Regions from separate parts of the Homo sapiens genome. Here regions 2, 3, 4, 5, 6 and 7 are each linked to region 1. Evidence: promoter capture Hi-C in 16 types of primary human blood cells and fetal thymus (Javierre and others, 2016). All regions are on one chromosome and are shown on one strand. Each heading gives the region's core, a stretch centred on a gene start or on the middle of the fragment in contact. The rest is flanking DNA. Distances are from core to core; before and after follow the strand shown. Region 1 holds the start of TBL1X (transducin beta like 1 X-linked). Region 2 has its middle 12 kb from the start of ANOS1. Region 3 has its middle 6.7 kb from the start of FAM9A. Region 4 overlaps WWC3 (WWC family member 3). Region 5 has its middle 39 kb from the start of FAM9A. Region 6 has its middle 57 kb from the start of FAM9A. Region 7 overlaps WWC3 (WWC family member 3).

Evidence for each region. The method cuts DNA at HindIII sites, captures the fragments that hold promoters and counts their contacts. A CHiCAGO score of 5 or more calls a contact.
Region 2: a contact is called between a fragment that was not itself captured here and the fragment with the promoter of TBL1X in region 1, in 5 of 17 cell types (naive CD8 T cells, naive B cells, activated CD4 T cells and 2 more). The highest score is 8.5, in naive CD8 T cells.
Region 3: a fragment that was not itself captured here is called in contact with the fragment with the promoter of TBL1X in region 1 in 1 of 17 cell types (total CD4 T cells); the score reaches 5.4 in total CD4 T cells.
Region 4: a contact is called between a fragment that was not itself captured here and the fragment with the promoter of TBL1X in region 1, in 6 of 17 cell types (non-activated CD4 T cells, naive CD4 T cells, activated CD4 T cells and 3 more). The highest score is 10.0, in non-activated CD4 T cells.
Region 5: a fragment that was not itself captured here is called in contact with the fragment with the promoter of TBL1X in region 1 in 2 of 17 cell types (naive B cells and total B cells); the score reaches 5.5 in naive B cells.
Region 6: a fragment that was not itself captured here is called in contact with the fragment with the promoter of TBL1X in region 1 in 7 of 17 cell types (neutrophils, non-activated CD4 T cells, total B cells and 4 more); the score reaches 8.3 in neutrophils.
Region 7: a contact is called between a fragment that was not itself captured here and the fragment with the promoter of TBL1X in region 1, in 1 of 17 cell types (total CD8 T cells). The highest score is 6.2, in total CD8 T cells.

What each region holds. Positions count from the first base shown.
Region 1 is chrX:9,463,126-9,467,300 of GRCh38, reverse strand. TBL1X (transducin beta like 1 X-linked) reads right to left here and starts at 2,243. Exons shown (of 18, transcript NM_005647.4): 1 at 1,854-2,243. RefSeq lists silencers at 1,268-1,417, 1,718-1,857, 1,978-2,557 and enhancers at 2,788-2,987, 2,815-3,643, 4,018-4,175. The HindIII fragment of the contact is 11,363 bases long and covers 1-4,175 here.
Region 2 is chrX:8,742,133-8,746,307 of GRCh38, reverse strand. No RefSeq gene overlaps it. Among named protein-coding and RNA genes, the nearest start is that of ANOS1, 12 kb to the right of the region's middle. The HindIII fragment of the contact is 2,187 bases long and covers 687-2,873 here.
Region 3 is chrX:8,805,982-8,810,156 of GRCh38, reverse strand. No RefSeq gene overlaps it. Among named protein-coding and RNA genes, the nearest start is that of FAM9A, 6.7 kb to the right of the region's middle. The HindIII fragment of the contact is 751 bases long and covers 1,571-2,321 here.
Region 4 is chrX:10,093,769-10,097,943 of GRCh38, reverse strand. It overlaps WWC3 (WWC family member 3), which reads right to left. Exons shown (of 24, transcript NM_015691.5): 8 at 3,663-3,812. Among named protein-coding and RNA genes, the nearest start is that of CLCN4, 61 kb to the left of the region's middle. The HindIII fragment of the contact is 1,620 bases long and covers 1,266-2,885 here.
Region 5 is chrX:8,838,101-8,842,275 of GRCh38, reverse strand. No RefSeq gene overlaps it. Among named protein-coding and RNA genes, the nearest start is that of FAM9A, 39 kb to the right of the region's middle. The HindIII fragment of the contact is 7,511 bases long and covers 1-4,175 here.
Region 6 is chrX:8,856,430-8,860,604 of GRCh38, reverse strand. It overlaps the pseudogene ANAPC15P1. Among named protein-coding and RNA genes, the nearest start is that of FAM9A, 57 kb to the right of the region's middle. The HindIII fragment of the contact is 1,669 bases long and covers 1,648-3,316 here.
Region 7 is chrX:10,071,354-10,075,528 of GRCh38, reverse strand. The region is part of intron 4 of WWC3 (WWC family member 3); the gene reads right to left. Among named protein-coding and RNA genes, the nearest start is that of WWC3, 58 kb to the right of the region's middle. The HindIII fragment of the contact is 218 bases long and covers 1,636-1,853 here.

The sequences.
Region 1 (4,175 bases), core at 994-3,493:
CCAGCAGGAGTAGATCGGATAATCTGAATTCCTGACCCTCGGGACCTGCTGGAGATGGCCTCCCTCTGCAGGGACCATTTTCCCGCCTCTGTTCGTCACCTTAAAAGGTGAAAAAAAATCTTCTAACTAAGATGATGTTGTACAGAACCAGTGGTACTGATATAATTGATGGGAAAACTCCAGAAATTGAAACATTCACTTCTAAGTATGTCTACAATAAAGTTATTTTTGCAAACTGTTTCCTCTTTAAAACCACTGACAGAGAGAAGTTCTCTGAGGTAAAGGGGCAAAATGCCTGAGAGTTGGGGAGCGAGGGTGGCAGCACTACACCACAAATCTCCATATTTGCCCTACAGGTGTGTGTTCTACTAAGGGCTGGAATCGCCTTAAGGGCCGGTGATCCAGTGATGAACAACTTTTGTTGTTTGCATTAGTTACCCAGCTTGGTGGCTTTCCACAAAAATGTGCAGCACATTTGAGACAGGACTACCCTTTAAAATAAACGCGTCATACTCAACGTTCTTCTGTATTTTATTTTTCCTAATTACATCTTTTCTAGGAAGGACTTGTAAACTTTTCATAAAATCGTCAAGTGCCACTTCCAACACCAAAGCCACTGCCTGGAACCTTAGCAGGGAGGTTGCCTTCCTTCCCCCTCGCCTTCCAGGTTAAACCAGGGACTGGGCGATGTTTCAGGAGAGGAAAACATCCAAAAGGCAGGTCAAACCACACATGACAATGCAAAGCAGAAACAGTTGCAAATACAATAGAGGGTAGGTTTTTGTTTCTTTTTAGGTTTTGCTCCAGAACATCACTGACTCGAGAATAAACGTCAGTCCCTACCTTTGTGGAACGTCCAACGCAGCTGGCTGGGGGAACACGAGGCCTTGCAGGGAGCGAGCCCCGGCCCCGGTCTGACGGAACACAGGCGACGCACGTGAAGTCCAGGCCCTATCCCAGCGCAGGCGGGCCTCCAGCGACCCACAGTTGTCACATATCCGGCCAGCGCCGACTCCCGAAGGCGCACTCCCCATACTCCACTCCGAGCACCGGTCCCATCGTTAGGGAAGGTCCCCCTGGATAGCAAGGCCGGGGCCCAGGATCTGCGAGACCCACCCCACCCGCCCCGTCAGAGCCCAGGAGCAGCAACAGGTCTGCGCTCTCCCCGGGCGGCGCTCTGCAGACCCTCGACGGGCCAAGGGTGCCCCCAGCCCAGCCGTGCGCTCAGGCCGGGGAGATGGGCGGAGGACTGGGGCTCCCGACTTCCTTGACAGTTTCTGCGCGTCAGAAACTGAGCAGACACGGGGCCCGCGCCACCTCGCCCGCCGCTTGCCCCACTCCGCGAGGCTGCGCTTCCACCCGGGTCCGGGAGGGCCGGCCCGCGTCCCGGGTATGAATGGGGCTCTTCTCCCCAACAGCGGGGAAATCCCGCCACCGCCCTCCACCCCGGTCCCCGGAGCCCGCGGTGGCGCAGGTTTGCCCAGCAAGCCCCTGAATCGGCAGACAAAGGGGCACCGGAGGAAAAGCCGAGCGCTTCCCTAAACTTACCGGCCACTTCCCCCTCCCCAAAACAAAGGAGCCCCCCGCCGACCTCCGTCTCTCCCCGCAAGGCGCGCCGGCACTTCGGGGAGCGGCCACCTCGGGGTATTGTTCAGGCTCCTGGGAGCGCGCCGCACCCCAGTCCGAGCGCCGCGGGGACAGTTGGCGACCTGCACCTACAGGAGTTCCAGGGGCGGGTGGAGCGTTCGGGCGCCCCGAGCCGCCGGCCGGACCCTGGAGGGTCAGCGCGGGACCCGCCTCCCCGCAGAAGTTTGCGGACCCCGCGCCCGGCCCGCCGAGCCCTGCGCACTCACCTCGTCGCGAGCAGCGCAACTTGTGGCGGCGCCGCGCGCCCGGCCGCGCTCCGAACCTCCCTCCAGCCGGCAGCCTCCGAGTCCCGGCCGTGCGGCGGCCGAAGAGGGCCCGGCGCCCCGGAGCAGCCGCGCGCCGCCCCCGGGCCGCCCCCGCCCCGCCGCCGCCGAGTCCCGGAGAGAGCGCGGGCGCTGGAAAGTTTCGGTGGCGAATGGCGGCCTGAGGGCGCTGCGGCGGCGGCGGGGCGGGGGCGCTGGCGGCTCCTCGCTCCCAAGCGCGGAGTGGGGGCGCTGAGGCGGGCGCGGCGGCGGCGGCGGCGGCAGCGGGAGAGGGCGGGACAGCGGGAGGGACTGGCACGGACAGTGACCTCCACGGGGAGCTGCCGCGAGCGCGCGGACCCCAGCCAGGAGGACCGCCAGGGGTCCGCCCCCGCCGCCGGCCCCTCCCTCACGGCCGTGGGAGGGGACCCGGCGTACCACCCGGCCCCGCCCCTGCGCCCCGGGGGAGCCGCGTCCCGAACCAGCCCCTCCCCTACGAGGGTAGGGACTCCGGCCCTGCCCCTCCCCCGCGGCTCCTAGTGGGGACCCGCGTCCCAACCCAGCCCCTGTCCCACGGTCGGGGGACCAGCGTCCCTACCAAGCCCGCCCCGCTCCCCCACGCCTAGGGTGGGTGAGGGGAACCCGGGCCTCTCCCTAGTTGCTCTGGTCCCGGTCCCTTCCCCGTGGCCTCCGTGGGACTGAGAGGACCCCAGGGCTACCCCCATCACATCCCAAACCCAGCCTTTCCACGACTGCCTCGAGGGGACGGGAACCTCGGCCACCCCCTCAGTTTCTAGGGGGCAGGGGAACCTCGATCACTGCTAAAGTGTTACCCTCCCCCACCCCAAAAAGGAAGCCACCCGGCTGCCCCAACAGAACCCCCTGCCACCTGCCCGATGGTGAATCTCCCTCAAAATCGGCGTCTTAGAAGACACCCCAGTAGTCTTTACCCCAGCTCAAAAAGTGGGGGTTCCGGCGGAGCCTCGACCTTTGCAAAACACCTCCCAAGAAGAGCCAGAAATGCTTAGGGACAAACTCAGACACACAGGCATAGGCGCCAGGAACTCGGGTGTGGGGGCTGAGGAGGTTGGGGGGACCTGGGCACTCGGGCCTCATCACTCCCACCCCAACCCCCCAGGCATCAGCCCTCTGGCCCTTGCAAAGTGCTTTATGTTGCAATGGCTTACACGGCCTGGCCCCGGTGTACCTAAGTCCCCAGCGCTCCTTCCTCCCCTCCACGTAGGCTACTCCCAACCACTCGCAGCCTTAATTCAGTTAAACAGATCTCCACTCCCCCTCCCCAGCACCTCTGGGGTCAGCCTCGTTGAATATTTTTCAAATATTCTTGCCCCTTCCTTTACTATATAATGAGCTTCGTGCTAAGAGCCCGGTACACTCAGCAATCTAAACTATAACCTCACTTGCTCTTCCTCGAACTCTAGACCATTTGTTGTTCTGGTTGTAGGGGGAGGGGGACCTAAGGTGAGGTTTTTGTTTTTTTGTTTTTGTTTTTGTTTTTCTGAGGAGTCTCGCTCTGTCGCCCAAGCTGGAGTGCAGTGGCGCGCTGTCGGCTCATTGCAACCTCCACCACCCTGGTTCAAGCAATTCCCCTGCCTCAGCCTCCCGAGTAGCTGGGATTACAGGCGCATGCCACCACGCCCAGCTAATTTTTTTTGTATTTTTAGTAGAGACGGGGTTTCACCATATTGGCCAGACTGGTCTGAACTCCTGACCTCAGGCAATCCGCCGGCCTCGGCCTCCCAAAGTGCTGGGATTACAGGCGTGAGCCACCGTGCCCGGCCGGAGGTGAGTTTTTAAGAGGCCGGTCCTCCACCAAAACGGCGGACCTCAAAATTACCCTGCAAAATATTGCTGTAAAACGTCAATGATGCAAAACGACTGTTGCTACACCATCATTAGAGGACATCAATAAAAAAATACACACTTACACAGTCTCCATAATTGTGAATCAGCAGAATAGATTGTGTCTTATTATGTATCAGTTGCCATTCAAGGCCCCCCAGAAGGACATGGTGGGGCCTTCCCTTGAGCCTGCCCTTCGTTGCTCCTGGGCTCCCTGGGCTTGTGCAGACTGATGCTGAGGTATTACATGCAATAGAAAAACGAAGGGTGCAATAGAAAACCCGAACGAGCTCATGATGCAACCCTGCCCTGGCTACACGTGCTTCCCTTCCCCCACCGCCTGCTGGTGGGAGTGCTGCGTTTTTTCCGCCTGTAGGGTCACATTGTGGTTGATTGATTCTCCTTTCGCCTTGCTCAGTCATT
Region 2 (4,175 bases), core at 531-3,030, 720 kb after region 1:
GGATCAAATGGTAGTTCTACTTTTAGTTTTTTAAGGAATCTCCACACTGTTTTCCATAGCGACTGTATTAGTTTACATTCCCACCAGCAGTGTAGAAGTGTTCCCTGTTCATCGCACCCATGCCAAAGATTGGAGACTTGGGGAGAAGAGCGGGAGGGGGACGAGAGACAAAAAAACTACAAATATGGTGCAGTGTACACTGCTCAGGTGATGGGTGCACCAAAATCCCACTAATCACCACTGAAGAACTTACTCATGTAACCAAATACAACCTGTACCCCAATAACTTATGGAAAAATAAAAATAATAATAAAAAAAGAAGACCAGTGTCATTGCAAGCATGGGTTGTTTAAACCACGGAGTTCTCATCTTCTCCTCATGTGTCAGTTCCCTGTCTTGGACTCTTTACCTTCTCATTTTTTCTGACAGTGACATATTGTTTCACTAGGTACTTGAGACAGCTCTACAAAAGTCTAGGGCTATTTTATCCCCAAGGCTAACACTTTTCAGTCATCTGAACACTATCTTTTGGTTCCTTATTATTCCTAAGAAAAACACTCAATTACTAAGCCTTATTCTTCTCTGACTTTCCATCCAGAAAGAATACAAAACAAACAAACAAACAAACCATTGCTTTCTGACCCATTCTTTTAACAAATGATGCATTTAATATTGCAACAGAAGCTTAGGACCCTGTGTTGCTGCTTAAGTGACCATGCAGTGTCTGGCACTGTTATTTTGACTTCATTATATTTTTAATTTTCAGGTACACTGAGTTAGATAAATTGTAACTCCTGGTCCGTGACATTTGCAACATTGTTCCAGGTATAGCCCATTTTACTTATTTAGCTAACTATTTAATTAGGTATTGTTAATAGCGTAATGGACACCAGAAAATCCCACTGCCACTAACAAAAGCTAGGCCTTATACAATCAACAAATCCTCCTGTTTTACCCACTATTATCTTATAATCTATGTCTACGATGATCGCTTCTTCCCCTTTTATATAAATTTATTGCATATACTTGTGTTTTTTTTTTTTTTTTGAGACAGAGTCTCCCTCTGTCACCCAGCCTGGGGTGCAGTGGCACGATCTCTGCTCACTGCAACCTTTGCCTCCTGGGTTTAAGCTATTCTCCTGCCTCAGCCTCCTGAGTAGTTGGTACTACAGTGCATGCCACCATGCCCGGCTAATTTTTCTATTTTTGTAGACAGGGTTTTGCCATGTTGGCCAGGCTGGTCTCGAACTCCTGACCTCAAGTGATCCACCCACCTTGGCCTCCCAAAGTGCTGGGATTACAGGCATGAGCCATGGCGCCTGCCCTATTGCATATATTTGCTACTAATAAGTATTTTTTTTATTCTAGTTACCTTTAACTTTATAAAGAGATAGTATATCTTACCATGTGTAGTCTGTTGGCATTTTTTTCACATACTGTTAAGGTTTTTGTTTAACATATGCATTTCTGTAGTTAATTTTAACAGCTGTACAATATTTCAGTATGTGAATGTGCAAGAGTTTATGCAGCTGTTGTCCTATCGATGGACACTTTATTGGTTTCAGGATTTTGATAACGTGAGCTGTGCTGCTGTAAAGTTGCTTGGTCAAGACTTTGATAATATATATGCGGTAGCTTCAGTTGGGTTGCACCAGGAGTGAAAATGAGGGATCGTCATCTATGCGGGTGGTTGGTTTTTTGGTGGTGATGTCCGACTCTTTTCCAGAGTCATTGCATTAATCGATACTCGCACCAGCAAAGTATCAAAGATGCTTTGAAGCCAGGTGCAGCGGTTCATGCCTGTAGTCCCAGCTACTCAGAAGGCTGAGACAGGAAGATCGCTTGAATCCAGGAGTTTGAGACCAGCACGGGCAATAGTAATACCCCATCTCTAATATCTTAAAAATAAAAGATGCTGTAGAGCCATACACTTTCAAAGAAGTTAGCATGGTCAGACTTCTAAATTGCAGCTGAATTAGCATGGTCAGACTTTTATTAAATTGTTGCCAAAGTAAAAAATAACAGAGAGTGTGGGCTTATTTTATATTTTTTCCAATCACCAATGATGCTAAACATGTCTTTTAGAAACACGTTTCTTCCTCTGTCCATGCCTGTTTATAAGATTTTCTCTTTTTTTTTTTTGTTCTGTTTGTGCTCTTTTCTTTTCATGTGTAGGAATTAATTCCATATTCTTTATTCCAACACTTTGTCTGGTGTGTATTGTGAAGGCATTTTCTACCACATTGTAATTAGTCTCTTTTCTTTCTTTAAGATGTCTTTGGTAAACAATATGCCTTAATTTTAACATGACCAAGTGGATTGAAATTTTCTCTCTCTCTGTTTTTTGTTTGTTTGTTTGTTTTGTTTTGTTTTGTTTTTTTGATGGAGTCTTGCTCTGTCACCAGGCTGGAGTGCAGTGGCATGATCTCGGCTCACTACAACCTCCACCTCCCTGGTTCAAGCAATTCCCCTGCCTCAGCTTCCTGGATAGCTGGGATTACAGGCACACGCCACCATGCCCGGCTAATTTTTTTTTTTTTTTTTTTTTTTTTTTTTTTTTTGTATTTTTAGTAGAGACGGGGTTTCACCATGTTCGCCAGACTGGTCTCGAACTCCTGACCTCAGGCAATCCTCCCGCCTCGGCCTCCCAAAGTGCTGAGATTACAGATGTGAGCCACTGCGCCCGGCCTCTCTATCTTTTTTTAGTTAATGCATTTTGTGCTTTACTTAAGAAGTATCTCTCTAATACTAAATTCATCTTTGATCTGACACCTGATTTGTCTCTCAGGTAATGGTTTGAGGATTTCCTTCCTTGCTTCGCTGGTCCTCTTCAGGCTTTGCTGGAGGATAATTCATTATTGCCATCTTAAGCTTTGTCTTCGAAGGTGTCTTGTCTATGAGGGAACTTCAGGCTCCAGTGTCAACTCTGACTTTGGAAGCAAGTTCTGGGGCTTTCTCCCAGGGTAGCCCTTTGGTGCCCCCTGCTGGCAAGTGTAACCAGGACAGCCAGCATTAAATCAGCCAAACTACTAATACATTCTGGGAAGCAGAGAGAATGTGGTCTGATGAATTTTGGGTTTAGGCCTCCATAATTTCAGATAACGTTTATGCTATTCGTAAATTCTTATATCATACTTCTGAACACCTAGAGTAAAAATTACATATTGAATACAACAATTAAGAAGTTGTAAGAAAAAAAGAGGCCGCAAATTGAGGAGTGTCGAGTATTTCCAGTTCCAGGCAAATAATTTGTTGAGCGCCTATCAGAAATAGCCATCAGCCATAAGAAGTGGAGATGGACATGGACATGTAAACAAAGACTTGATAAGGCGTGGCGAACATAATAAAAATGAACAGCATGAAGAAAATACTCAGGAGGTGTCATCTGAGAATGTTAGAAAAGGCTGCCCATAGGACAATACAGTTACCTAAGGTGGGGACAATAATACATTTCTCAGTGCACCAGGGTTGGCAGGCCAAGAGGAGAGACGACCATTTCAGGGGAGAGAGCAACATCCACCACTGGCATGGGCATGGAGTGACAGCGTGAAGGCGCCAGCTGTTTAGTTCTTCCGTAGCGTGGCTGACACTGATGGGTCTGGGGAAAGATGAACTTTGAGGAGGGAAGACATTATAAAGCAACTCTTACTGCATGATAAACAACTGTCACATCAGCAGGGGGGATCCAGCCATGATTTTTAAAGAGGGCAACAATAATAGCATATCCTAATTTTAGAAAGACGTGATAAGAGCTAACACTTCCGGTGGTGTTCACCGATATTAACTCAGTGAATACTTATGACACCACAAAGTTGGTATGTTTTTCCCATTTTCCATTTGAGAACACTGAGCTACAGAGAACATATATAATATCCCCAAGTCCACACTTCTAAAAGCTTCCACAGGGTCGACTGGGGTTCATACCCAGGCAGTCTTTTGCAGGCTCTATGCTTTCAGCAGCTTTTATTTAATTGACCGTCTTGGGTACTTTTGCAATAGGCCAGGCACGCTTCCTGCACTGGGCAATGGGGGCTGGGTTCCTGAGGCAGGATTGTGCGTGTGTCTCGCCCTTGGAAACGCCCAACAGGGAGTTGGTCTTACGTAGCGTAGTGAAAGCTCAGGGCAGAGGTGGTTGAGAGAGACACATGCAAATCTTACAGCTCTGCAGAGCAACT
Region 3 (4,175 bases), core at 697-3,196, 660 kb after region 1:
ACAGATAAATTATAATTTTCCCATTGATTATTAAGCTTGCTTCAGATGGCTTCAACTTGCATGCTTATTTTTGTGACCCTGCATTACTGTACCACTGTGCAAACTGAGTACCTGCATCTGCATCTGCGTGTGTGTGTGTGTGTGTGTGTGTGTGTGTGTGTGTGTGTGTGTGTGTAGCCTGGCCCACAAGAAATACTCAGCAGCAAGTATTGGCTGGTATTCTTAGCTATTATGGGTAAAGTTGCTTTGAGGTCAGTTAGCGGAGAAGGTGATTGAATTTCTGGTCACCTGGCAGGAGTAGGCAGTGTTTCCAGAGTTGTAGCAGCATTTAACACCTGAGAATTTCTGTTCACCTGAAACTCCTTCATTTGAAGGCGCTTTAGCACACAAATCAGGGACCCTCTGCCTAAGCACGTCCAGCCATCTTTAAAAAGGCTTCGGAGGTGGCTCATTGAAGGCTCTCAAAACCTATAAGTAGTGATGAGGTACTGTTCCCATACCCCTAAATGTATCCATAGGGCCCTGGTGTGATTAATTAGATTCCTGGATGCATTTCTTCCCATCTACAGTCCTTGTCAGAGGATAGATAGTTACCTTTACAATACTAAAGAATACATGTGATTAAACAAGTATGATATTTAAAAGCTTATAAGAAGAGTTGACTGAGTGAATATGTGAACATATTATAATATGTAAACTTTCTCAATATAGAGTAGAAGTGGGAGGCCAGACTCTGGAAACAGACAGCCTGGTTCCAAATCTACCCTCTGACCCAAACTAAGATCAACCCTGCTATCTCACTGTGCCTCTATAGCCCTCTCTGTAAAATGGGGATAATGGCAGTACCTACCTAGTAGACTTAAGATGAGGATTTAATAAATTCGTTCATAAAGCACTTGGAGCAGGTCTTGTCATGTGGCTAGCAATCTATACATTTTTACTCAATAAATAGAATGCAAAACTTTGGGCTCCTGTTGATTTCCTCGCTCTGGATACTTCCCCCGGGATATACCAAATTGCTATTCCAGGTGTAAACATTTCCAGAAACATCTCTGATACCTTTTCTACATTAGGAATTTCCACATCAATGGCTTTCAGAGGTCATCCACATAACCCTGGCTTTACACAAGGATATTGCAAGGATTTCACAGGAGCCAATTGTTTGAAAGAAATCAATTTCCAGAGCACCTCTTTCCTAACAAATGCAAACTGTTCTTTTCAGGGGAACTTCAGGGGAACTCTTACTGTGATTCAGTCAATAATAATCAATAATAATTATTGATTATTAATCACAATAATTATAGATTATTGATTATAATATTATTTATTATTGATAATTATTAATACCAAATTAATATCAAATCAATTATAAATTGATTAGTAATAATAATCAATAAAAATAACTTGATAATCAATGCCAGCACAGAGGAAATCCAGCTCATCACATTCTCCAGCCACTTCCAATTCACCAGTCTGGGATTGCTTGAAGCTTCAATGGAGCCTGTTGTCCTTTATAATAACATTAATAGCACCTCTTCACTCTCAAGGACAGCCTGTTAAATTTTAAGCTTAGGAGATTTTAGCAAGCACTCCCTAAGATCATACCCAGTTTTGAGAATGTTTACAGTTGTTTTTCTGGAGAGACATCTAAAACGTTCACGAGATTCTCAAGAGAGTCTATGGGCCCAAGAAGATTGAAGACCACTATTTTAGAGGAACAGTGGACCCTTCTCCACTCCAAGGCCAACTCCTTCATTCTCTCATTTAGACCCTCTCTCCTACATACTCAAACTTTGGTGTTTCCACTCAAGTCCTTCAGCCTACATCTATGCTCAAGTCTGAATCTTCATCTGTAAAATATTTTCCCTTTAGCAACCACCCTACCTTCCTTCTGTTCTTCCTGGCTCTACTTCCTCAAACTCTAAGTACTTTTCTACAAATTATGGTCTGTTTTTTGCCCCTGGCACTCCAGCAAGACCCTGATGATGCTCAGTGTCTAATGCAGTGTACACATTCTAACTCTGATATAAACTCTGTGTGTGTGTGCATGACTTGATATCATTTGGATAGCAATTTATGGCAGAAACATCCTCTGGTCTGACTCTGAGTCTTTTTACAATGGATAACTGAAACTATTACTTGAAGTTCTTCCTTCCTTTGGACTTGATGACATCATTCTTCACTTTTTCTTTTCCTAACTCAGGGTCTTCTTTCTCAACCTGTTCTGTGGCTTCTCCTCTCCACGCAGCAATTCACTTTATAAATATTATTTAAAGAATGAATGGATGGGGATTGGTTTTGGTGAGACACGGTTCCAAGCTTGGCTCTGCCTCTGACTGGCTGCCTGACTTTGAGCGCCTTCCTGGGCCTGTCTGCATTCAGTCTCCTTGCCAATATCATGGGGAGACTGAGATGATAACATATTGACTGTCCAGCACAGAGTAGATGCTCAATAAATTAGTTGATCTTTCTCCCTGCAGGCAAATATTGTTTCTCTTAATGACACCCAGTGTTTTGATGACCATTGTGATGTTGCAAACTCTTAAACACATATCTGTTTGAGGTCTCTTTACAACTGGAGACTTATTTTTCCCTTTGCTTACCAGGCATCTACATCTGAACCTCCCATGGGCACCCCAAAGGTCACAAGTGCGGGTGGCCCTGTACCTGTCCTCTGAGACTTCCTTTTACAGTCTCTCCAGCTACCCACTCTTCCAAACCAGCCACCTCGAAGTCATTCTGTAAACCTTCCATTTGGTGGCTAAACCCTTCTCACATGTAATTGGTAAAAAATTCCTTTTGATTTGACCTTCCTCTTTGCTCTCAGATCTCCACCTCCACAGACACTGCTACAGTCCAGACCTCCACTATTTCCATGTGAGAGTGAATTTTGATCTATATGGTATCCCAGCCTCTAGTCTCCCAGCCTCTAGTCTCATCCTGTTTCATCTGACGGTCCCCACTGCTGCAGAAAGTAGCAGTTGCCAATATCATGGGGGGATTGATACAACACATCGAATATCCAGCACAGAGTAGATGCTCAAGAAGTTAGTTGATCTTTCTCCCTGCAGACGAATATTGTTTGTCTTATTGCCTCCCAGCGTTGTGATGACCATCGTGATGTGGCAAACCTCCTAGAAGATGTCGCATCACCTTCCTAGAAAGTACCCCTTTACTTCTCTCCATGTGTAAAATCTTTCAGTTAATCTCCATTATCTAGAGCAAGGTTGCTCACCCTAGCACTGTCGACATTTGGGACAGAGTCTTTGCTGTAGGGACTTTGTACAGTGTAGGGTGCTTAGTGGATCCCTGGTCTCCACCTGCCAGATGCCAGTAGCCTGCCCCCCTCCCCAGTTGTAACAGCAAAAACTAGACCTGGCCAAATATCCCAGGGAGGGGGCACAAAGTTGCCCCTGATTGAGAACCACTGACGTGCAAAAATAAAACCTATATTATCTCTTGGCTTATACCCCAAGATATTGTGCCCAAATATCTTCAACTTTATCTCCTAAAACTATAACTCACACAGACTCTGGAATCTCTTATAGTTCTACAAAAGATTTACTCTTTCCAAGTATACCCCACCTTTGATGACTCCCAGACTAAAGTGCCCCATTTTTCTACTTTTTGTCCCCATTTTCTACTGGAATACCTTTTTGTCCTTATCCTTCCAAACTAATCTCAGATAATTTCTCCTGTTGTAAAATCTTCCCTGTCAACACTAAAGATAATTTGTCCTTCTTCCTTATGGATCCTACATCACTTACTATCTATTGTAGCACTTGTCACTGTAATTTCTTCTTTTCACAAATGTTTTAACCTGACCACTACTACCACCTACTTACAACTTTTTGAGTTTAGAAAAGAGATTCTATATACTTAGCATGTAGTACAATGCCCAACACATACTAGGAGTCTTGACAGCTATTAGATAGACGAATAAGGGAATGACTGAATGAGTGAATGAATGAATGACGTCACATCCTTCTCTCCCCGGCATGGAAATATGTTGCATGTTCTGCATGCAGAGTGAGTTGCCGGCTTCATGTCAAGAGGGAATCCCCCTTTAAGAAGAGAATCTGAGCTGCTGTTCCTGAAACTTCCTGAAATCCCACCTGTTCCTGAAACTTGCTCTATTGAGACTTGAGTTTCAACTTGATGCTAGAGAAAGTTGT
Region 4 (4,175 bases), core at 826-3,325, 630 kb before region 1:
GTCTGAGGCGGGCGGATTACGAGGTCAGGAGATCGAGACCATCCTGGCTAACACGGTGAAACCCCGCCTCTACTAAAAATACAAAAAATTAGTCGGGCGTAGTGGCAGGCGCCTGTAGTCGCAGCTACTCGGGAGGCTGAGGCAGGAGAATGGCATGAACCCAGGAGGCGGAGCTTGCAGTGAGCCGAGACTGAGCCACTGCACTTCAGCCTGGGCGACAGAGCAAGACTCCGTCTCAAAAAAAAAAAAAAAAAAAGAACCAAGGGCAAAAGGAAAGCAAGCAAGGTCTCAAAAAGCCAGAGCTCGGGGAGTACCAATATAGAGTTAGCCTAAATGCGGTGCTCTGTGACGAGTAGATATACTTAAATATTTTTGTACCAGTTACATTGATGACAATAAAATCCTACACAAAACAAAAAAAGACATGTACAGGAAGTAACTGTAGTACATTTTGGTTAATTCCTCATTCCTGCAAATATTCACACAACTCCAGTTTCAATAAATCAGCTCCATCTGTTGATCTGACCTTACTAGATCACATATTATGGCCACCAAGTCTTTACATTTTTGAAATAACTTCCCATCAACAAGTATCTGAAAATATTCAACTTGAATGATTAGCAGTGAATTTATCGACACGAGTTTTGATCTATGTTGATGAAAAATGTCTTCGCAAATTTATTGCCTTGAATGGCAAGATGAAAAAGTGCCTTACAAGGGACTGAGCATTCTCCAACCAGAATGACAATTGTTCATGGTTTCTTTTTTTGAGACAGGGTCTCGCACTATTGCTCAGACTAGAGTGCAGTGGCACAATCACAGCTCACTGCAGCCTCAACCCCTTGGGCTCAAGCGATCCTCCTGCCTCAGCCTCCCAAGTAGCTGGGACTACAGGCATGAGCCACCACGCCCAGGTGGTTGCCCAGCCATGTTGCCCAGACTGGTCTTCAACTCATGGGCTCAAGCAATCTGGCCACCTCTGGCCACCTCAGCCTCCCAAAGTGCTAGGATTACAAGCATGAGCCACTGTGCCTGGCCACAATTATACATGTTTAAACGGCCTCATCCAATGCTCCTCTCCAGCTTCCTCAGTATAAATATATTTAAGTGGCAGTGCCACAGCTCCAAAAGCTGTCCACAGTGGAGATGAGCTACTTGCCATTTCAGTCCCCTCTTTATTAGTGACCCTGCAATCAACTCATCAAGATCAGTAAACATCATCTCTCAAACCTCTTCTCAAAGCTGTATGCACCTCTCTCTAAGCTTTGTTTCTGTACTCTTCTTTGAGAATTAAATGGACATTTTAGTGAAAAGAAAAGACAGCCAAATGGATCCAAGAGACTCCTGCTTCAGAGTTCCTATGCAGCGCTACAGCGTGTGCAACCCTGTGGCTGCAAATCTCCAGTCTCAAAAAGCACATCTGACATACAGCAATATCCACCCCACAAAACAGACTCAACACAAGCACAAAGTGAGGTAGGCAGACTTCTAAGAAGGCCCCTAATGACCAACACCTCCTGGGATTCTCCCCGTGTGAAATTCCCTCCCCCTGAGAATAAACTGGGTCTATAACTTGACTCTAACCAATAGAACAGAACAAAGGTGATGGGAAGTCATTTCTGTGAATAGGTTACAAAAGACTGTGACTTCCATCTTGCTAGCAGACTCTCAGCTGGTACACTTTGACGAAGCAGGCTGCCGTGCTGGAGCAGCCCATGTGGCAAGGAACTGAAGCCCTCAGTCCAGCAACCTGTGAGGAACTGAATCCTGCCAACAATCACATGAGCTTAAGAGTGGCCCCTCCCCCAGGTGAGCTTTTGGATGAGACCACAGTCCTGGCTGACACCTTGATTGCAGGGAAGTTCCTGAGAGACCCTGGAGCAGAAGACCCAGCCCAGTCTCCTGGACCACATCAAGCATGAGATAATAAAGGAGTGTTGTTGTAAGAGGCTAGGTTTTGGGGAAATCTGTTATGCAGCAATGGTTAGCTAATACAGTCATAGCCTTTTGATCTATTTTTCTATAACATGATGTGGTTTCTTAGAAAGTACAGGGGTTTAGGGATGAGAAATGTTTCAAAACCAGACCTGCCTCTCCTCAGCTACAAGACCTTAGGTAACCTGGCATCTCGGTCTCCTGCACATCACACAGGATGGGAACAACTACTTAAACTGAGATAACAGCTATGAGATTGCTGACCTAGGGTCAGCCCCGGTAAACTTCAGGAGCTTATCAACAATGAGCAGTGACTGCTCAAGTAGCATAACCAGCCACCACTCCTCACCTGACATTTTTAGAAGGGTTGACCTAAATCACTGGAGAACCTTCTATCTTAACTGTTTCTCTCAAACTAAATTCTAATTCTAACCTTACAATAAGCAGCAATGAATTATTCACGAATTCAATGAGTCTTACACTTGTTTCCTTCTCTCGCTCCAAAATCTTTACGCAAAAATGCCAAACATTTTTGAATTACAGATTCTCCTCTGTGTGTTACAGATGGCGACCATATTCTTTCATCCAAAGAAGATGCCTAGTCAAAAACGGCCAAGTGTACGTTTGGAACAACGCAGGCAAATTTGAAAATAGGACTGTTCCAGGACACCCAAGACATAAAGGGCCGTGATTTCCTACATTATACTCCACTCGAAGAGGCACTAGTTGCTAAGATTTCAAAATATTAATTAGCTAATTATTTAAAACCCAGAGTTTTCCATCAATTGTTTTTTCCTCCTTTTGTTGCTTTCCTTTTATTTATTTAATTTCGGGGGAGGGGTGGCACTGTGCATTCCATTGATACCTCATCTTTACTTAATAATCCTTAAAAAAAAAAAAAGAAGCTCTTTAAACTGTTTTTCCATTTGGTAACAAATTAATGTCAAGCTTCACTCAATGATATTACAATACTAGCGTCTTTGAATATCCACCATCCTGCTTCAAATGGTGATTTTCCCAACTTTGTTTTTGTGGCTAACTCAAGGCTTCGCTAATTAACAAAGGAGGCATTATGACATTCTTCCAAGTCTCAAACAAAAATGACTTTTAGTTCAATTCAATTTCCTGACATTCTTTTAGAAGAGTAAGAAACAGCAATAAAGTAACACCCAAGGTGGCACAGCTATAAAGCCTTTGGAAATCAGTGGTCTAAGGCAGGAATCAGTAACTATGGCCCTGGGGCCAAATCCAGCCCACTGGCTGTTCCGTAAGTGAACGTTTGAGCAGCTCGAGGCCCCAGTCTTACATGCTTGCAAGGCATCTCTGTTATGGCTGCATGTACACTACAATGACAGGGTGGGGCAGTTCCAGCAGAACTACCTGCAAAGCCTAAAATAGTGACTATATTTACTATCTGGCCCTTCACAGAAAAAGCGTGGGGACTCATGCTCTAAAAAGTGATATGTCTGTCAAAAGAACAGTGAAACTCAACTCTCACAAGGAGTATGTCATTTATAAGAGTCCAAATCATAAGGGCAGCAGTAATAAGCAATTCAATTGTATCACACAGCTGGATGTGAGACACAACACTTTTTCTTCAAACTTAATGGCACAAAAGTGAAGGCATTTCTTAAGTGAACATGGAAAATTACACCAAACCAGTGATGGCAACACTGAAGCAGCCCTCCCCTCTCCCGGTGCATTTCTCCCCCTGGGCGCGCATATACCTCCCCGATGATATCAGTCTGGGAGCCGGCATCGCAGAACTGCTGGGGTACACCAGCATCGCCAGGCACGCCTACATGGTGAGGGAAGTCCACTAGAGAGTCGGTAACGGAGCAGCTGTTCTTGAAGCTATCGGTCAGCTTGGCCAGGCTCTGGAACACAATGAGACAAGCTCTTTGAACGGAGATGGTGATGTGTCTCTTCCCTCCAGAAGTGGTTCTCTCATTTGTTTTAGGTCTGCTGCATTATTTATTACTGAACAGTTGCCCCACCTCACCCCCATGCTCGTTAGATTTCACATAAATGCCCTTCATCACAGGCACCTCTAATAAAATTCTTAGTCATTTAAATCACATCGCAACTAAGTCCCCCTGGCAGCATGTGAATAAAATAGAGGACAATTATGGTACCATTTTTACTGGTTCTTAAACCTTCATGTTTCCTAAAGAAAAAAATAAGTATTTCTATCGAAAATGTAAATGAGCCTGACAGAGATGAATGCTGCCTTGAGATTG
Region 5 (4,175 bases), core at 432-2,931, 620 kb after region 1:
GATAATCCCCCCATCTCAAGATCCTTAATTTAACCACGTCTGCAAAGTCCCTTTGGTCATGTAACCTAGTGTATTCCTAGGTTCCAGGAATTAGGACCTGGACATATTTGGAGCTATTATTCTGCTGACCACAAACCACAATGCGTCTTGTATGAACTAAAGGCCTCCAAAGCCCCAGTGTGGAGCCAGAACAGCAGGCGGTGAAAGCCACTATACACAACAGTGAAACAGCCAGTGTTTGTGCGGGTTGGCTTTGGAAAGAGGTTTTTGACCTTGTGATAGGGAGAAATACTGTCACTCTTTTAAACACACGGTAGACACACCTGTGCATATGGCCATAAAGAGGATTTCTGCATATTGAAAGAATGCATGCTAATGCTACAAATAAACAAATTTGGACTGCTCTACATCTGGCATTTTATGGGCGCCTGTTAACAGTTGATGGAATTGGCTCTAGTCTGTAGTGAAAATGCCTTACTGGCTTTCTAGTGAAGCCCCTCAGCAAGTTATTCCCTAACTTTCACTTCATTGAACAACAACAAAATACTAATTTTCTGGAGGGAGATTGGGACATATTTCCAGACAATTGAACATTCTTTTATGACCCTTTCATTAAATAATTGGCATAAAAATGTAGCTCCTTGTTGGGTCAGTGGAGTGTAATGAAGTTCTAGAATCTAATAATCTTTTGGAAATACTACCGTTATTCCCATTTTACAGAAAATACCACTGTTTTAATGAGCTGTATCATTTTTTCTTCAATATTGGTGTGGTGGATGGGGCTCCATGGGGTAGCATATTTAGTTTAAAGGCTATTTACTATGACTCCATAAGAACCAAAGAAAATGGAAGAAGAAATATCTGTTTGATAGCGGCAGGAGCTGATTCCTATGAGGAAAACTGGACTGTAAATTTCCACATACCTGGCTTTACGGGCTATGCACTAGAAACATGAAAGCATTTTTTATAACTCAAATTCGCAAATAGCATACATTATTTTACACGAGGTATATTAGTTATATGAATGAGTCAGCTATTACCTCCTTAAGTGAAATACTTTGAATAAATGACTACAACACTTATTGAAAGCCTCCATCTACTTAAACCTGCTTAAATTCACTTTTTCAATCATTTAAGCACATTACAATCGAACACCATTTCAACTGAGTATTTCAAATGGCACTGGCTATTTCAGAAGACAAGCTGTGATTTTCAGCTGAATTGAGCAAGAGGCCAAAAGTAAGAAAATCCTGCCTTTCAACAATTTCCCCAGTCTTCAGAGAGTCATTTTCATTTTCATTGAAAATCCTTCAAAAAATTTTACAGGACCAAAAATAATATTATTTACATTATGCAGCTTAAAAAATGTAACAATAGACTATCCATCCCACCTCATTATAAGAAAATTTAAGCGGGGATTATTGCATTTCTATAGGTACCATGACTTGGTCAAGTGACTAAATTGTTCACCCAACAGAGTGCAGGCATAAAAGTTCTCAGCACCTGCTATTGAGAAATGTGACTACTGAATTCTTCAGATGAAAGATAATCAATACTGACACCTATTTTTATTGCATTTGCATATGTGATGCAAATCTCTCTGATCACGTGCTGGCCAGGCTGCCATGAAATTTAAACCTCTCAGTTCTGTGTGGGTTTCCTCTCTGCTTATGGTTAGAAATGCATTTTCCTTTCAACCCCTGACTTCTCAGGCTGATTGTTTTCTCTCATTTTCCCTACAGGCAGGACTGTCCCTTATAATCATGTACATGTGCATATGTATACATATCTACATATATGAATGTATAAATTCAATATATATTTTTAAAATAGCTGGGCATGGTGGCGCATGCCTGGTCCCAGCTACTTGGGAGGCTACAGTGGCAGAATCACTTGAGACCAGGAGTTGGAGGCTGCAGTGAGCTATGATCATGTCACTGAACTACAGCCTGGGTGACAGAGCCAGACCCCCATCTCAGAAAAAAGTAATGGTACAACAAATACATATAATGTCTTATCAGAAAGAACTCATCTGAGAAATATTCATATTTAAGCAGTCTTCTTTAGGTGCTTGGGATTAAATTATTCATACTTGAATAATGTATGGATCTCATTTGAAGTTTAAAAAAGAATTTCCTCATTGAACTTCAGTCCAGCATTCAATTACTTTTATTGTAGAGAAAAATTAGGTGAACACCTAAGCATTGCCACTAAGCGTCCCTTTCCAAGCAGTGGGATGCAGCCCTGAATCTTTGCATCTCTTATAAATTGCAAGTACAAGTAGGTGTGCAAACTCTGCCTTGGCCAGACAGGTTCTATTGACTTCCCTCTCCACCTTTGGAAAAGCCAGCTTTGCTGCCATTTTGTGATTCAATTATTTTGTTCCAGGTACGTTTGTGCTGTTTTGACTTTTCTGGTGAAAGGGTTCTAACATCTGTCTGGTTCCCTCATTCATTAATGACTCAAATAAAGTCATGAACACATGTTAACTTTTATATATGTACGCAGTCATGATTTTACCCTTTCCGAAAATTATCTTTTAACAGCACTATATTTAAATGTGTATAAATATATAAGTAGGTAGGTATATTTTATGTGTGTGCCATATGTTTCTAACCTATATAAGCCATAAAAGTAAACATCCAAATTAAGCATAAACCAAATTCTAAAGTGCGTAAATTTTTTAAAATTTTATTAACGAGTTTATAATAGTGTGTTAGGCTTAAATTTAAAACAATTTTGTGTATTTAGAGGGTGCATAACCCATAAAATTAAATAAAGCTGACAACATTAATTTCAAGTGATGAAGTTGCCACAATTGGGTTGGGGAGTAAGAAGATGATTTTTCGTGATTACAGTTGTACTGCCATTGACTTGGCTTTGACTTTGAGCATCATGAACCATCATTTGAACGGTAGTCTCTGCCATGATTACATTTTCTTTCTGAACGGTGAATGAACTCAATCATCAATGTAGTATTTGAAGGCATAATCAATGTAAGAGGTCACCGTGAGATAAATTAACAAATTAAAAATCTTAATTTAAGGAAGTGTTTTTCCATGTGCTTTTGAAATGACTACACTTTCTGCCAATGAAGGCTTGCATGAGTAAGGATCAGATCCGGCAGGACTTCTGCTTGCTGCAGGGAGACAGGTGCAGGGTGCTGCCAGGTCGGCATGCCCATATCACTCCATCTGCTGAGATGACTGAAGCCTAGTCTGGCTTGTCCTATTAAAGTTGCTGCAAAGTCTTCATTTGTACATTACATAATGACATCATTAGCCTTCTGTTGGTGCATAGCCATTACTTATGTATTAAATTGGCCTCTGTTCTTTTACATTACAGTGCAAGACAACTGAAGAACTATATTATTACTCTATGGCACTGAACAAACATTTAGAATTTAGAGAATGCCTTTATTATATATATATATTTTTTGTTTTTACATGGTATACCCAGTAAGTATTATATGTAACATAAAAGATTACATAGTTTAGTTACTAGTTATACATGTTCTTCTATGATTTCAATTTCACATTATCATAAAAACTGAAGTTGTCAAATTTCTGCATTTTGCAATTTTTAATAAAATTTTTTAAATAGAAAATTAGTGTGTTTTTAAAATTTCCTTCTACAATTTGGTCTACAATCAGGTGATTTTTTGAAGCATATGTAAGCAATTATTTAAGTAAAGTATAACTGTTTAATACCATATGTTGTCTTAAATATATCTTAAAATAATGTTCCATTGAGTGGGCTGATACAGCCTTTACACTGATTCACCCCTCCTTTCTATTTTCCATAAAATCAGGCTTTGAGCTCTGCTCTGGGCTACTGTCACAGCTGCCTAATTGATTTCATGTTTCCTCCAAGCTCTCTTTCTAAGGAAAATAAATTTTAAAATATCAAAAGGTCTGCATTACGTATTCATGAAATGATCTATATTTTTAAGGCATATTTAGCATATCCTTTCCATATGTCCAGCCAGTTCTATGATCAGCAAAGAACCTTGAATTCAGATTTTTAAGGAACCTTCCTTTTAAGAATAGACATAGGCAACACCCAACAATGCATGATGGATGCCTTGGAGTATGCATGATGTTAAGAGAGCCCCATGATGGCATGGAACCCCATCTAGCTGTGATATCTGGCCTGAGGGTGAGAAGCAAGGAGAG
Region 6 (4,175 bases), core at 1,233-3,732, 610 kb after region 1:
TCTGTATTCTGTGTCTTATCTTTCTCATAGCAAGCTTTAGGATGAAATGATCTCTCCTCCTTTCTCTAGAGGTGCAATGAAATTAAGCAATAAACAATGCATCCTAAAATCTGAATCTTCAGGGTACAAGAAAAGAAAGACACTTGGAAATTCACACTACAGTAAAACCCATCAATATTCATGGCAGGGAAAGTTCAAATAAGAAAATCTTGAATTAACTTTAGATAAATATCAAGTGTGAAATTCATCAAAATAATTGGAAATCGTGAAAACCTATACCATGATGTGATCATGGCTCCCAGTTCCATGGACTGTCTTTGTCAATAAAAGCAAGACTGATTCTAATTACCTCTTATATTTTGTCGTGCTATTTCATTGTCTGTAATGATTCCATTTATTGATAACCATTAATATTTATTGAACTTTTATGATGCTTAATGCTGTATATTTGCTTAGGTGATAATATAATACTGCATGTGTAAATTGATAAAATGTAATGTACAGTGCCATAAGTGAGTAAAATAGTGTTGAAGAGGAACCTGCCTAGAAAAACAATGTGCAGGGCTGTGCTGTTCAATATGGTAACCACCCTTATGGTTATTTAAATTTAAATATAAATTAATTACCATTAAGTTAAATAAAAGATTCAGTCCCTAAGATGCATCATCCACATTTCAAGTGCTCCACAGCCACATATGGCTAGTGGCTACTTCACTGAACAGTGCAGGTAGAGAATTTTCCATTATCATGGGAAGTTCTGTTAAACAATGTGTGGCTAGGAGGTTTTGTGAACTGTAGCCTTAATAGAAAGAAACATTATGCTTCATTGTTTAAAAAAGAAAGTTAAACTGTATTAGCAGGTTGGTAGGCAGAGAACTCATGGTTTCTACTGTACAGATTAGTTAGAGCCTCCTTACTATGAAGGTTGAAGCTGAAGTGGAATAAAGACCTGATGGGCATTTGTGGAGAAGATTTCAGCCCCAGTAGAGACGGATGGTAGAATCTCCCAGGTAGACCTTTCTGGCTTCACAGCTCCACTAATGACCATGATAAAAATCCCTTTCCAAGAAGAATGTACTTCCACTTATACACCTAGCACCTTCAATGAAATAAGTCCATGAATTCCTGAACTATGCATCTCAACTCTCTAAGAATTCTTCCAATTCCCAAATTCTATGAAATAAAAATGTTTTTGATCATACAAAATCTACATCTAAAAAGAATTTGGGACAACAATACATATATAACCAATGTGCACATGGCTTGAAAACATTGTCTTCTCCTAGGGAAGTTAAAACCAAAGATAGGCTGGGCACAGTGGCTCACATCTGTAATCCCAGCACTTTGGGAGGCCGAGGCAGGTGGCTCATCTGAGGTCTGGAGCTCAAGACCAGCCTGGCCAACATGGTGAAACCCCATCTCTACTAAAAATAAAAAATATTAGCTGGGTGTGATGGTGGGTGCCTGTAATCCTAGCTACTCGGGAGGCGGAGGCAGGAGAATCGCTTGAACCAGGGAGGCGGAGGTTGCAGTGAGCCACGATAGCACCATTGCACTCCAGACTGGGCAACAAGAGCGAAACTCCATCTCAAAACAAACAAACAAAAAACAAAGATAGTGTGGACAGTGTTGTGACCTGGGAAAGCTTATTTTCATGGTAACCTCAAAGTAAAATGATTAATTCCTGGAACATAGAATAGATATGAAATAACATTCATGTTTGTAAAGGTGTTTTCTTGAATTATAACCATAATACCTGTTTAGGGTTATCCTAATGACTGACTTCATACTTTAAGTCCTTTATCTCTTTCTAACCACATTCTCAACAAGGTATTATGTTGAATAATAACTTCTTTTTCTTTCGTTGAAAACGTGGTCTGATTTCCTGTCTTTGACTTAAACTCCCATAATGTAAAAAATCCAAATCAGGTACTAAGAAAATGCACAAATGAAAAATGTTTTAATATTGTTATGGGAATTTGTTATACATCCAAATCATATTATATCATCAGAAATCATAATAATACCATTATACTGTGCAATTATGTGCTTCAGTGGCAACTTATCATGTGTTTACTATAATTATACCATTCGACTAATTACAGCAATCATGCCATTTAGTGGCTGAATTCTTAGCTCTGAATTCCATTGATTGGGTGGACTTTATAATTCTATGAGGTTTTGTGCCTTGAATTTGATGAATGTAGAACTCGAATTTTGTGTTGCTAGCTTAAAAAAAATTCCAGCAATAATTTCGAGGTTTGGGGATGAATATGTTTATGATTTATCAAAATGTCCGAAGGAGGGCAAATTGCTGTTTTTCCATCGCAAGCCTGGGCCCTAAAGCGGAGTGGGCTATTAGACTAAGTCCTTGTCTGTAGAGCAGAGACTCATGTCTGCATCACTCAGGAGCCAAAGGGTTAAAGTGAACTGACAGGTTGCTGAACTGAAAAGAGAAGTAGTTTGGTTACTTAGTAAAATTAGTCAATCAGTTTGACTTTTTTCATTCCATTGATCACTTGCTAAACTAAATGGATTAGATGGACAAATTTTATTTGTTAGCACTGTACAGCTAGGAGTCCATAGAAGGACACTCAACAATCGTCAACACATCCTGTAAATAGAGGTTCAGCTACAAAAATTTGTCCACATAACCTGTATTATCAAATGTCTATTTCATGCAATGCACTATGTTACCTTCTGAGAAAGGAACAAAGCCATTTCAGACACAAGTCCCATATTCACCCAGCATAACCTATCAAATAATCTTCTCATGTTTGTGAGGCTGGGAAAAGGTAGCCTTCCAAAGGAAAATTACATAAAGCGCATCTTAAATTTCCTAATCAACTTGAGTGTTACTCTCCATACTTACCTCTGAGAAGGAAGCTAAGAAATCATTTGGGTGGGGTTAGATCTTCTAATCCTTCTGTTGGGTAACAGCTTCAGCAGGGTAGAGTGAAGTGAATCTTGCCAGTGTTTTCGGGCCTGGATCTGCAATTTGAACTGTTAGCCTTTGGAAAACTCACTAAATGTTCAAGTCTCAATTTTCTTATCTCTAATAAGGTAATGAAAGGTAGCTACTCTGTAGGACTTTTGTGAGGTTTAAGGGAGAATACCAACACTTTTTAAAATCTATGTATCCAAATATATAGAACTTTTACCCTCTGGGTTTCAAGAGGAAATACTTTAATAAGAAATTCACGTTCGTCCCCTGAGAAAGATCTTAGATGTGATGCAACTGTTTGCAGGGACATGAATATCTACAACTTTCTAGAGCATTTCCCATTAGATTAATATATTGAAATAAGCAAAAGCTTTGACATTAACGGCTCTGCTGAGTTGTCTCTCTTTTTCAAAATCAGAATAACAGGATTAGATGATCACATAAAACTGCTTGGGGGTGAGTCCCGGATTCTGGTGGGTTCTTCCACTCAGGCTTGGTGAAGCGCTTCCGGGTCTCCACTGGCTGCAGACCCTGGTGCGAGGAGGACACTGAGGCCCAGAGAGGTTAAGTGACTCGGCCAAGGTCAAACAGCTAGTAAGTAGTGGAGCCAGGACTCAAACCCAGTCTAGGAACCATGTCCACTTTGTTTCCCTCACTCTTCCTTTGTGGGACTGAGACACTGTGGTTTAATCTGGATCGACCTTGTATGGGAGAGACAGAGCTGCAGCAGCAGGAACAGCAGCATCAGACCTGGCTCGAAAGCATCACAGAGAAAGACAACAATCTGGTTCCTATTGGCAAGCCAGCCTCAGAGCACTATGATGATGAGGAAGAGGAGGATGATGAAGACAATGAGGATAGTGAAGAGGACTTAGAGGATGATGAGGACATGCAGGACATGGACAAGATGAATGACTACAATGGGTCACCTGATGACGGAGAGGTCAATGAGGTGGACATGAAGGAAACGAACAGGATGTGGACCAGTGAATGATCTAGGTAGATAAGGCAGGGTGCCCTCAGGGAGATTCCAGGCCAGCCCAACCTACCCTGCATCCCAACCCCCAACCCTTGCCCACAGAACAAACTGAAGGCCCCAGTGCCTGAAAGTGCCCTTGGGCACCTCCTCAGCTGCTGCCAGGATCTGGTCTCCTTGGCCTCTCCCAGGCCGTCAGTCTGCACTTGAAATCCACAGAGCCTGAGCCCACTCCACCTTCCTGGCCAGTACCTC
Region 7 (4,175 bases), core at 495-2,994, 610 kb before region 1:
AATCTCGAGGTTTATGCTAAAGACCAGACTTTCACCTCTGAAGCTTTCTTCTCTCTTGAAGAGTTAAGTGGGCAGAGCTATTAAATAGCATATGGAGTCTGCTCAGGCATACAACATTGCCTCAGATAATATAATAACAAGGTTATAGCCTAGCTGGACCACAGCAATGTAAATTATTATACCTTGCTATTACAGGGTGCCTTTCACATTTATTTAATCTATTCTCATAAAATCTTTGTGAAGGTGAAATGATACTTATGTGTCCTTGCCCATTTTATAGATTAAAAGACTGAGTCTGTAGTGACTTGATCTATAATACATTATGCCATCATTCATAGAGGGCTTCATGTCTAGAATCTGGGCTCCGGTGGGTCAGCTGCCAAAGATCCTTTAATTGGGCTAGCTTTCCCAGAAGAAGAAACGGTCCTCCAGCTCCCCAGTGCCCACCACCCAACAGGTGAACTTGACCTGTGTATTTAGGACTCAAAATGCTGCAAACCCCAGTACTTAACTCTGGATTTCAGTTTGACAGATTACTGAAAGGGGAAATGTGTGTGTCCATGAGTCTGTTTGTCTTTGTCTCTCTTATGTACAGGCGTCTTCTGAGCTATGGGTACCTAAGGTCACCCCAGAGACAAGACATGCTTTAAAAGACCAGCAGTCCTTCTTCAAAGACATCCTCTGGAGCAGGTTGCTCCTTAGGACCAGGTGTAGGCCTCCAGGGATCAGCACTGTCAGGAGTTGCTCAAGGGAGCCAAGAATGACTCTGGGCAAAAGGCCGACAAGCCCTGACAGGTTCCAGGTTGACAGGTACTATCTACCAGAGAGGCACATGGAGAAATACGCAAGGCCAACAAAGCGGGCAGGATGGGTTTTTTTTAAGGCAATATAAGCAAAAGACCAAAAACAATCAAGTAAGGCCACCTGGGGGTGATCTACAGAAGTAACCCAAGAAGCCACCAAATCCTAACCAGGAATTCTCCCTCCAGGACAGACTAGGGGATTATTTCTCAGGAAACACATGTGCTTTGCTGCAACCTCCAAAATCTGGCTTGCTGACTAATACATGGGAAAAATGCTCCATGATCCTTTTTTCTCCTGCCTGCTCCAACATGCGTGTGTGAAGGAAAACAAAAGGTTGAATTGGAATGGATTGCCTGTAGCCCTGTTCCTAACCAAAGACAGCAAATGAGAAATCCTTCAACAGCGAGAGCCCCAATGAGGCCGGGTGCGGTGGCTCATATCTGTAATCCCAGCACTTTGGGAGGTAGAGGCGGGCAGATCTCTTGAGTCCAGGAGTCTGAGACCAGCCTGGGCAACATGGCAAAACCCCATCTCTACAAAAAGTACCAAAATTAGCTAGGTATGGTGGCGCACATCTGGAGTTTCAGCTACTCAAGAGGCTGAGGTAGGAGAATCGCCTGAGCCCGGGAGGTTGAGGCTGCAGTGAGCCAAGATCACACTACCACACTCCAGCCTGGGCAACAGAGCAAGATCCTGTCTCAACAACAACAACAACAAAAAAACAAAAAAACAAAAAAAAAAAAACAGAGCACCAATGGAAGAGTCATTGTGAGACAGGCTTGGAGCCTCAGAAGGAATGCTGGCAAGGCTGATGGCTGATAAGGTCAAGCTTCACCACCACCTAATCCAAGAACTCAGGGTGGATCAGCACTTTCTCACCAGAGATAACGCTGCCTCTTTCCTAGCCACCCAGAAAGACTTTCAATGTAGACTTTGAGTAACTCCTAGGAACTAGGATAATAAACAAAGTCATATTCCTGCTGCTACAAGGGCCATTCACACTCTGTCTAGCCCAGTGGATTTCAACCCTGGGGATCACCTGGGAAGCTTAAAAAAAAAAGCCTGGTCCCACCCAAGGCCAGTTCTATCAAAATCTCTTGGGGTGAGGTCCAAGCAGCAAGTTTTTAAAGATTCTAGCTTGCAGCCAGGTCTGAGAACTATGGGTATAGACCAGGAATTAGCAAACTTTTTCTCTAATGGGCCAGACCCTAAATATTTTTGACTTTGTGGGCCATACAATCTGTCTCAAATACTCAATTCTGCCACTGTAGCTGCTACAGACAATAGGTTACTAAATGGACATGGCTGTGTTCCAATAAAACTTTATTTACAAACACCCACAGTGGATAGGATCCAGCCCACAGGCTTGACATAGTTTGCAGACCTGAGGTTTAGACTATTATCCTACCCCATGCAAGAATTTCTTCCAAAAGATCCTGCAAATGGTCATATATAGTTCATCTGAATGTGCCTGGGGCTAGAGTTTCTCAGGAAGAATAAAGGAATAACTCCAGGAAAAAATGTGTCTGAGATAATGAACGTATTCAGTGTTAAAAGGCAGGCAAATAGAAGAACATGTTGCAATAAAGAAAGTAGAAGAAAACTCTACAAAATGGAGCTGTAGAAAAAGTAGCAGGTGTGTCTCAGAGAGAATGAGTCCATTGTTGAGCAGTTTCACCCCAGTGTTCTACGAAGCATAAATGAGGCCTGGGCATCACCAGGCAGCTAGCACAGAAGCTCATTGAAATCAAGCAGGGTTGGGTTCCTACTCTCATGCAGACAAGTGTGCAAAGCATCCAGCCAAATATCTGAATTTGCTTTCAGGTCAAGGCACGGATGTTCTTAGATACCAGATGGCCCAATACTGACACAAAATCTTTCCTCTCCAATGCATGAAGTTTTCTTCTGGTGATTTCCATAGCTCGAGGGAAATGTGTGAGGGGTATAGGTGAGATGCACTTCTCCTCCCTACCTTCTGCTCCCACATTAGAAATGGCTGTTCCAGTTAATTCCTCTGTTCACACATTATTGCCTCATCTTTCCCAACAAGCAACCATTAGGAATAAAACGTGTTCCCGGCTGGGCGCAGTGGCTCACGCCTGTAATCCCAGCACTTTGGGAGGCTGAGGCAGGCAGATCACGAGGTCAAGAGATAGGGACCATCCTGGCCAACATGGTGAAACCCTGTTACTAAAAATACAAAAATTAGCTGGGCATGGTGGCATGCGCCAGTAGTCCCAGCTGCTCAGGAGGCTGAGGCAGGAGAATTGCTTTAACCCGGGACACAGAGGCTGCAGTGAGCCAAGATCGCGCCACTGCACTCCAGCTTGGGGACAGAGCGAGACTCCGTCTCGAAAAACAAAACAAAACAAAACAAACAAACAACAAAAAAAACATGTTCCCGCCATTTAGTATATATCAACAGCAGGTGCTAACTGTCGAAAAATAAATGAACAGTTTAGTGATCTTACATGGGCCATGGAAAAGTCAAGATCTAGAAAGTGCTCTGCCTTCCACTTGCCCCCTTTATTGCTGCAAAATTTCCCGACAACTTGTCAATTTATAACTAGTCTTTATTTTCAGATAACCTGAAAGTTGGATGGGGGAGGGGTTCCACAAACACCATCAGCTGTTCTGAGTGGCCTCTTCCATGTCTAGGAAACCGTACAGAGCACTGAAGGCCACCAACACAAACAGATCTGGGCTTAAATCCAACTTCTACCATCTGCTGGGTATGTAATCCTGAAGAAATAATTTAGCCTCCCTGATATTCAGTTTCTCATGTGAACAATAAAGAAAACAGCACGTGCTTGACAACACTGTGATCACAACAATGCACAGAAAACACCAGCTCATTGGATATCGGTTCCTTTCACTTCAAGTCATTACCCATGAAGAAAGAAGTGGGAATTAAGTCCAGATGTTATTCTGTTCACAGTATCAGAAAAAGGAGACGCCTCCTGCTTTAGATGACTGGCACTGAGGGAGATCTGGGCAGTGAGACCCGTGTGGCTACACAGCCAACGTGTGCTATGGAAACTGCCACCAGCAGCTCCCAACATGGGCCCAGGCCCTCTGGCATGGCTGTAGAAGCCATCTGTTAGATCATGGTCAAGCCAACAAAATCACTGCATTGGACTTTATCCTGTGGCCAGAAAGAATTCATCTGAGTCCACTCTAGCAGGGTTTTCCTTGTTGTACCTGGTAGTTCGGGTTAAATGGCAGATTGAGAGAGCTTGGTGGGAGCCCTAGGGACAGCAGCAAGTTGATAAAACACTTGGATCAACTCCTAGATTCCGTTCAGAGTTGGCTTTTTCCCTGATGAGCTGACAGGCCCCAGGAAGACCCACTGGCATCTCCAGCCCTTTCAC